Regions from separate parts of the Homo sapiens genome. Here all the other regions are linked to region 1. Evidence: promoter capture Hi-C in 16 types of primary human blood cells and fetal thymus (Javierre and others, 2016). All regions are on one chromosome and are shown on one strand. The core of a region is centred on a gene start or on the middle of the fragment in contact, and the rest is flanking DNA. Distances in the headings are between cores, read along the strand shown. Region 1 holds the start of MEIKIN (meiotic kinetochore factor). Region 2 overlaps RAPGEF6 (Rap guanine nucleotide exchange factor 6). Region 3 overlaps RAPGEF6 (Rap guanine nucleotide exchange factor 6).

Region 1 (2,877 bases), core at 212-2,711:
AAAAGCTTTATTGCAAGTGGGCTGGCAAGGAGACAGGAGGAAATGCTCAAATCTGTCTTCCTAAGCTGGGGTTTGGTTTGGTTTTTATAAGCATAGGGTAAAGAGATGTGATCTGATTGGATCTTGTAATGAGGTGATGCTGGGAGGCATGATCTGACTGGATCCTGCTATGGGATGAAGCCAGAGCTCAACCCGGTTGGATCCTGCCATGCCATATCTACTTCTTAATTCAGTCCCTCCTCCTTGATCTGAGCACTTGGTTTCCCCTGTGGCTGCATGCTTGGTTCATCTAGGCATGCTCAGGTTACATGACCTCAGGGTTCATGGCAACTGAAAAACAACTCACAATTTTGTTACATAAAAGTTGAACCAAGGCTGGGCAAGGTGGCTCACACCTGTAGTCCCAAGAATTTAGGAGGCCAAGGCAGGAAGATCACGTGAGGCCAAGAGTTCAAGACCAGCTGGGATAACATAGCAAGACCCCGTCTCTATAAAAAAATTTACAAATCAGCTGGGCATGGTGGCATGTGCCTGTAGTCTTAGCTACTCGGGAGACAGAGGTGGGAGGATCACTTGAGCCCAGAGTTTGAGGCTGCAGTGAGCTATGATTGTACCACTCCACTCCAGCCAGGGTGACAAGCCAGACCCTGTCTTAAAAAAAAAAAAAAAAAAAAAAGAGGAGAAGGGGAAGGGGAAGGGGAAGAAAGAAGAAAGAAGAAAGGAGAAAAGAAGAAGAAGAAGAAGAAACAGATCGGTCTGGTGCAGCAACAAGTTGAGGCCCAGGGCACAAGGAGGAGAGCCCCTATGGAATCTTCTACCTTAACCACAAGGATGCCCAGATGTCTAGAGATGGCTCCTGGACACAGGCTAAGGGACTGTTTGTCGTCCAGAAGCAGCCTCCTAGAGCCCGGGATCTTCAGAGGCTTGGTTAGCCTCTTAATTACCATAGCTTCCCAGTCAGTTGCAGGCCCAGGGGACTGAAGTTGATTCCTCAGGGAGAAGCTCCTTGTCACTTTAAGGTGCATTCAGTCCTCTTTGTGACCTTCCTGCACTGAGGCCAACCCCTCACAAGACTGCCTGTGCTGGTGGCCTAAAACTCCATTACTAAGGCCTTATGCAGTGCTGATAGGGAGAGCTTGCTCAGAGGAAGTGTTGGGCCCACCCAAAGGAGGGAACGCCTTTACTCCTGCATGCCCAGTTGAATTAAGCATGCAGCCACAGGCGAAACCTAAGTGCTCAGACGGAGGAGGAGGGGCTGAATTAAACCTTTTTCTGGACGAGGAAAAAGTTTTTTCCAAAAAACTCTCGTTTCGCTGGAGTTGAAGGAACCTGCGCCAGAAGGCCAGAAACCACTGGGCCCCTATAGGAAGGCTGGGCGGCTGCCGCGCTCCTCCGTTTTCCCAGAAGCCTCTGCGCGGCCTCACAGAGATAAAAGCGCGGGAGCGAGGCCCGGCGGCTCCAGTTCTGGGGCTTTTGCTTTCGCTCGATTAGTTGCTGTGAGGCTGCTCCGCGGGCCTCGCCTGGACGCTGACTCCCTGTGACTTAGCCCTGATCCTCAGGAAGGCAGGCCATCGAGAGTCCAGAGGCACCCGTGGCCTGGGGGTAGGGTGGGATAGCAATGTGGCCGCTACGGGTCTATACCCGCAAAAAGCGGGAGGGTCAGAGGCTCAATCTCACCCCGACGCCAGACCTAGGCTCTCCAGCGAAGGCCGAGGCCCCGCCAGGTACAGGCTCAAGGCTCGCCCACCGTAAGCTCAGCCGAGCTGCCTCCGGGACGGGACCGAGGGCGGGCGGGGGTGCTAGGCCTCGGGCCCAGGACCCCCCCGAAGCCGGTGGGTAGGTTTCTTGCCCTGAAACGTGCCGCCCTCTCTCAGGTTCGAAGAGAAAAGGCAAAGTGCACGGCTTGTCGAAGATTGCAGAGAAAGCAGAGCGGAGCAGGCAGGGAGGTAGCGGCTCTGGGCCGTTCAGGTATGTAGCCTCCAGTAACAGCCCGATCCTAGCTTGCCACCTCAGAAAACTTCAAGCCGAATTTTCTGCTAGTAGCCTTTTATTCTAACAGTCAAGGAGCAAAACAAATACAGTACTCTGATTTTGCTCTTCTCAGAACATGGACCCCAAAATTTGACTTCAGGAAGATTTATTTTTAAAAAGGGGAAGGCTTGCCAATTTACGTAAAAGGAAGTGAGATAAATTGGTCGGTGAGCTATACGATTGTGTCACTGCATTTGGGTTTTGGTGCAAGTCACCACTCTGGTCCTTACTTCTTCCTAAAGATGTCCCTAAAGAGCCTTTCAGATTCTAAAGAGTCTGAACAGAGACGTGGAGAGCCAAATCCAGATGGTGCAAACTAATTGCGTTGTCTCTTTGTTAGCCCTCGCTTAGGAGTTACAGGAGAGAAAAGCCTGCAAGAAAATAGGTCTAGTGAAGACACCCAGGATGAGAAGATTGCATCGTTGCGTGTATGTATGCTTCTCTTTTAGTCCTTGGACACACTTAGTGTAGAGACTATCAGTACCTGATGTACCTCCGGATGAAAGAATAAAATGGGCTTTGTTCTGTAGATGTTACATAGCTCACCAGTATTTTTATAAACACTTACGTGTCTTTAGACAGGGCCTTGAATTTCTGACTTGGGTAGATTCATAGTCATGCATTTTTGTTTTTCTCTTTCTCTTGACACGTTTTTGGAGAAACGTCCATAATTGGTGAATTTTCTGTATGACAAATACAAAATGTTACTTAATAACTCCTTTTTTCATGTTTTCCATTTGATTTTCCATTAACAACTGGAAACATTCATTACTAAGGGTTTAATATGTTACAGAGCATTCTAATGTTTATTCATTAGAATATTTTATAACTTCTTGATGTGCTGTA
Region 2 (2,877 bases), core at 168-2,667, 400 kb after region 1:
TTGATCCTCCCACCTCAGCCTCCTAAGTAGCTGGTACTACAGGTGCACACCACCATGCCTGGCTTATTTTTTTCCCCCTGTAGAAATGGGGTCTTGCTCTGTTGCCAGGTTGCCAACTCACCTTTAATAAGTATCACTGTTGTGAGACTGGAATGTCACTAATATCTTTGGGTTTTTCTTTGTCTACAAAGTAGAGACAGTAATACCTGCTTACAGGGCTGTTGTGTGAACTAACTACTTAATATATATGCATGCTGGCCTATTTTAAACTCCTAACAAATGTTAATTTTCCATTTTATTTTCTTACTTAGAAGATGCCAGCCTTACTTGTGGCTGTTGTCATGCATTAAGTTGAAAATTAAAGAATATTGCATAAAGTTTTCTTGTTTTACTTTTTAACAATTAACTAAAACCATAACCAGGATTGTTTGCTAAGTAAAATATGTGTATAATCAGGCAGTTTGTAATTAGAGGAACTCAAGTTGTAATTATTGAATGTGTAGGTGTAGTTAACAGCCTTCATTTCTGGTAAGTGACTTTACTTAGAGGATGTATGTTTATGTGCACAAGAGAGACTGTTTCCTGGACGGAAACTGTGGTCTCCAGATCTTTATAATAACATCACCTCTAATCTTTAACTCATGAGCGTTGTGCTATACAGACTGTTTTCTTGAGGCAGTTTCTTGTAAGAAGTAAATGAAGCTTCCTTATGAGTCTGTTAAGACTCCATAGATTGTCAATAATATGGAAAAATTTGATATTTCATCAGGAATATGAACATGTGTTTCAGGTAGAGAATGCCAAAGATAATGAAGATAGTATTCTACAAAGAGAAATTCCTGCCAGACAATCCCGAAGAAGATTTCGGAAAATTAACTATAAAGGAGAGCGCCAAACCATTACTGATGATGTGGAGGTTAACAGCTATCTTTCTGTGAGTATATTTAGGAACACTTCATGAATCTTCCTTAATTTTCATATCTAGTATCTTTAATTTACATGTATCTTTGGTAATATCAACATGCTGGGCTCTGTATGTGAAAATTTGGGGCAGGTAAATATATAATCTTTTTAAATGCTTCTGTTTGGTTGAATTGGTTAGGAATGCTCTTACCAGTGGGAGTTCTGGTTTTGCTTTTTTGTTGTTGTTTAAATAGTGAAAAAAGTTATTAGGCTGGGTGCAGTGGGTCATGCCTGTAATATCAGCACTTTGGGAGACCTAGGCGGGCGGATCACAAGGTCAGGAGTTCAAGACCAGCCTGGCCAATATGGTGAAACCCCCATCTCTACTAAAAATACAAAAATTAGCCAGGTGTGGTAGTGCATGCCTGTAGTCACAGTTATTTGGGAGACTGAGGCAGGAGAATTGCTTGAACCCAGGAGGCAGAGGTTGTAGTGAGCCAGTATCACACCACTGCATTCCAGCCTGGTCGACAAGAGCAAAACTCTGTTGCCAAAAAAAAAAAAAAAAAGTAAGCTGTGTCTTCAAAAGTCTTTAATTGTGAATAGCTTCTTTTTAGACTGAAAAGTAGCTGAATCAAGAAATAAGGGTAATCTAAAAAAATCAGGTGTATTTTTGAGGGGAGAGGTTTCATAGTTACCAGTTTCCAAAGTACTCACGATTTCTAGAATATTAAAACAATTAGTACAGAGCATTTCCTCTTGTTTGCATTTGTTAAAAATAATAATAAAAAGGATGGTTGAATATAGTGAAATTCCCAAGGATGTGTTTAGTTTTTTCAGTTGTCATAAACAGATATTTATTCATTCCATGTTAGGTGTTAGGAGTAAGAAAGATTATTTCGAGAGTTGTTTGTACTGGAATAAGTGTTAGAATTAAGGCAGCTCTAATGTTTGTCACATTTGCCTAATTGCATTGATTCAATACAAGAATATGAAATAGTCCTAAAATTTATCATATCCAGAGCCACAACAAGGTTTATTTCCTGTTCTCACTATTTAACAATTTCTGTTTTTGTATTGTAAATTTCCCATCACTAATTAAGGTGACATATTTTGCTTTACTGTGTAAGTAATATGTGTCTTTTTTTGAAAAATTAGAAACAGATTGTTCCTATTACACAGTTATATAACTATTTGATGATATTTTGCAATTCTTGGATAAAGCTTTTCAACATACAGATAAATCTGTAAGGTTTTTGCTAACTATTGAAAACTTAAATATGTAAATTTTTGTTAACTTTTAAAAACAAATATATAAACTAAACATCTTTGAATGTTGTTAAATGTTTTTCCCATTATTCCTAATGACTGCACAGTACTCCATTATAATAATATGCTATAATTTATTCAGTTCTTGATATTTGATAAGTTACATTCTTTCCAGTTCTTCATTATTTATTTATTTTTTTTTTTTGAGATGGAGTGTCGCTCTCTTGCCCAGGCTGGAGTGCAGTGGCACGATCTCAGCTTACTGCAACCTCTGCCTCCTGGGTTCACGCGCTTCTCCTGCCTCAGCCTCCCTAGTAGCTGGGACTACAGGCGCCCGCCACCACGCCCAGCTAATTTTTTGTATTTTTAGTAGAGACTGGTTTTCACCATGTTAGCCAGGATGGTCTCGATCTCCTGCCTTGTGATCTGCACACCTCGGCATCCCAAAGTGCTGGGATTACAGGCATGAGCCACAGCGCCCGGCCTTTTCCTTATTTTTTAAAAATTAAGGTGCTAAGTACAATGTATGCCCACATTTTCATTTCTATAGAAAAAATGTCAAGAGGTAGAATTAATAAATGAAAGAATCTTTAACTGTAATATTTAGTTTTCCTAGTGTGAGCTAGAGTGTGTTTTGACTGCTTGCTCATTCTAGTCTCAACTTCAGTATCTTCTTTTCCCAGATTTTTTTGGTGTCCTGTCATG
Region 3 (2,877 bases), core at 264-2,763, 360 kb after region 1:
GGAAGAGGAGGGGCCAGGCTCTTCCTCACAGCAAAGGGCACAGACTTCTGTGGCTCCACCCCTGTGTGTGCTTCTCCCAGTGTGCAGGCCAGTTAGAATTTTTCTGGGAACCCCTTTACACTTGACTGTCTCAACAGGGTGTGCCTACATTAAGCTTTGTTAATTCCAAGTTGCATTCCAAATTGATGCACTAATTTACACACCCACCAGTGGTGTGTGAGAGTTCCCATTGTTCCACATTCTAACCAACACTTAGTAATACAAGTCTTTTTACTTTAAAGTTTTTGGCTGCTTAATTTCAGTCATTCTTTTCAATTTTATAGTTTTGATTTGCATTTTAATGACTGCCGATGAATACATTTTCATTAGAATGACTTTTTTTTTTTAAGATAGAGTCTTACTTTGTCACCCAGGCTGGAGTGCAGTGGCACAATTTTGGCCCACTGCAACCTCCACCTCCCAGGTTCAAGCAATTCTCCTGCCTAAGCCTCCCAAGTAGATGGGACCACAGGTGCGTGACACCACGCCCAACTAAATTTTGTATTTTTAGTAGAGACAGGGTTTCACCACTGCTGGCCTCAAGTAATCCACCTGCCTTGGCTTCCCAAAGTGCTGGGATTAGAGGCTTGAGCCTCCATACCCAGCCTAGAATGACCTTTTTTGTAAAGTGACTTCTCAGGTCTGTTCCTCATTTTCCTAATAAGTTGTCTTTTTGTTTTTGAGATGTAGAAATTTTTTATATATTCTGAATAAGAAACCTTGCTTGGTTATTTTTGTTGGAAATACTTTTCCCCACTCTGTCTTATTCATTGTCGTATTCATTCTGTTAGTAACGTCTTTGGATGAACATGAGCTCTTAATTCTAATGTAGAAAAATTTGTCTTTCCTGTTTCTGAGGTTGTGAACCCCAAAAATCTGAGACAGGTCTTAGTTCATTTAGAAAGTTTATTTTGCCAAGGCTGAGGACGTGTGCCTGTGACACAGCCTCAGGAGGTCCTCATGACATGTGCTCAAGGTGGTCAGAGCACAATTTTGTTTTATACGTTTTAGGGAGACATAAGACCTCAATCAACATATGTAAGATCAGCATTGGTTCAGTCTGGAAAGGCAGGACTACTTGAAACAGAGAGGGGGCTTCCAGGTCATAGGTAGATAAGAGACAAATGGTTGCTTTTTTTGTTTGTTTTTTGGGGACGGAGTTTCGCTCTTGCCGCCCAGGCTGGGGTGCAATGGCGCGATCTTGGCTCACTGCACCCTCCACCTCATGGGTTCAAGCTATTCTCCTGCCTCAGCCTCCCCAGTAGCTGGGATTACAGGTGCCCGCCACCACACCCAGCTAATTTTTATATTTTTAGTAGAGACGGGGTTTCACCATCTTGGCCAGGCTAGTCTCGAACTCGTGACCTCAGGTGATCCATCCACCTCGGCCTCCCAAAATGCTGGGATTACAGGTGTGAGCCACTGTGCCCAGCTGGTTGCATTTTTGTTTTTTTTTGAGTTTCTGATTAGCCCCTCCAAAGGAGGCAATCAGGTATGCATTTATCTCAGTGAGCAGAGGGGTGACTTTGAATAGAATGGGAGGCAGCTTTGCCCTAAGCAGTTTCCAGCTTGACTTTTCCCTTTAGCTTAGTGATTTGGGAGGCTCAAGATACTTTGCTTTCACAAGGCCATGGAGATATATATGTATGTATGTATGTATGTATGTATGTATGTATGTATGTATGTATAGTTTTTTTTTTTTCTTATTTTCTAGAACTTTTCTTGTTTTCCTTTCACAGTTAAATCTGTAGTCTACCTGGAATTGAGTTTTGGGTATGGTATAATGTTGCGTCGTTTTCCATAGGGATACCTAGATGTCCTTTTCTCACTCATTTAGTGCCACCTTTTATGTAAATCAAATATCCACATATGTGTGTGCCAGTTTTAATTTTCATGTTTTTGATGAATAATGATGTTGAACACTTTTCCTTATGCCCTTATGCTTATTGGCCATTGCTTTCTGTTTTTTCTTTAATAAAGTATCCCTTAAATTTTGTGTGCCTGTTGTTAAACTCCTGTTATTACTGTAACTGTCCAGTGGATTCTTCCTGCCCACCTGTACAGACAAAACCAATTCACTGAGACCATGGCATTGTAATAAAGAGTTTAATTGACACAAGGCTGGCCACGCCCTGTGGGAGATGGAGTTATTACTCAAATTCATCTCTCCCAAAATTTGGAGGTTAGGATTTTTTAAGGATAGTTTGGTGGGCCAGGGAATCTGGATTCTGGGTGAAGCCACAGGACTGGTTAGCAGGAGGTCTGTGGGTCCTGGTGGCCACTGATGAATCATCAGAAATGCTAAAAACCTGAAAAGACATCTCAATAGGCCAATCTCAAATTCTACAATAGCACTGTTACTTGCAGGAGTAATTGAGGGAGTTGCAAATCTTGTGACTTTTGGAATAATGACTGGTAATCATTTATGTCTACAGCTTAGCAGAATTCAGCTCCTCATCCTTGTAATCTGGTGGTCTTTCTTTCATTAGCTTTACAAAAGCAGTTTAGTTATCATTTAAACTATAAATGTTTCCTAAAGTTAGGGTGGCCGGGGCCAAGGAATGATTGAGGGCAGTTTAGAGGTTAAAGGAAAGCTGGGTATTGGTTAGATCAGATCTCTTTCACTGTCATAATTTTCTTATGGTTATAACTTTGCAGAGGCAGTTTCATTATTATTCTATAAGAATCTTTCTACATCCAGGATGCAAGCTGTCTGTTAACCATTTTATCCCATTAATTTGACTTGCATTTTTATTTATTTTTAAAACTTTATTGAAGTATAACTGACATACACTGAACAGCACGATTTATAGTATACAGTTTGATAAGCTTTGGCAT

The links. The method cuts DNA at HindIII sites, captures the fragments that hold promoters and counts their contacts. A CHiCAGO score of 5 or more calls a contact.
Region 2: a contact is called between a fragment that was not itself captured here and the fragment with the promoter of MEIKIN in region 1, in 1 of 17 cell types (monocytes). The highest score is 5.6, in monocytes.
Region 3: a fragment that was not itself captured here is called in contact with the fragment with the promoter of MEIKIN in region 1 in 4 of 17 cell types (neutrophils, monocytes, non-activated CD4 T cells and 1 more); the score reaches 6.8 in neutrophils.

The regions. Positions count from the first base shown.
Region 1 is chr5:131,944,247-131,947,123 of GRCh38, reverse strand. MEIKIN (meiotic kinetochore factor) reads left to right here and starts at 1,461. Exons shown (of 13, transcript NM_001303622.2): 1 at 1,461-1,724; 2 at 1,875-1,968; 3 at 2,372-2,459. The coding sequence starts at 1,619. The HindIII fragment of the contact is 14,593 bases long and covers 8-2,877 here.
Region 2 is chr5:131,546,104-131,548,980 of GRCh38, reverse strand. It overlaps RAPGEF6 (Rap guanine nucleotide exchange factor 6), which reads left to right. Exons shown (of 28, transcript NM_016340.6): 6 at 791-934. Among named protein-coding and RNA genes, the nearest start is that of RAPGEF6, 88 kb to the left of the region's middle. The HindIII fragment of the contact is 1,425 bases long and covers 705-2,129 here.
Region 3 is chr5:131,584,140-131,587,016 of GRCh38, reverse strand. The region is part of intron 4 of RAPGEF6 (Rap guanine nucleotide exchange factor 6); the gene reads left to right. Among named protein-coding and RNA genes, the nearest start is that of RAPGEF6, 50 kb to the left of the region's middle. The HindIII fragment of the contact is 2,714 bases long and covers 157-2,870 here.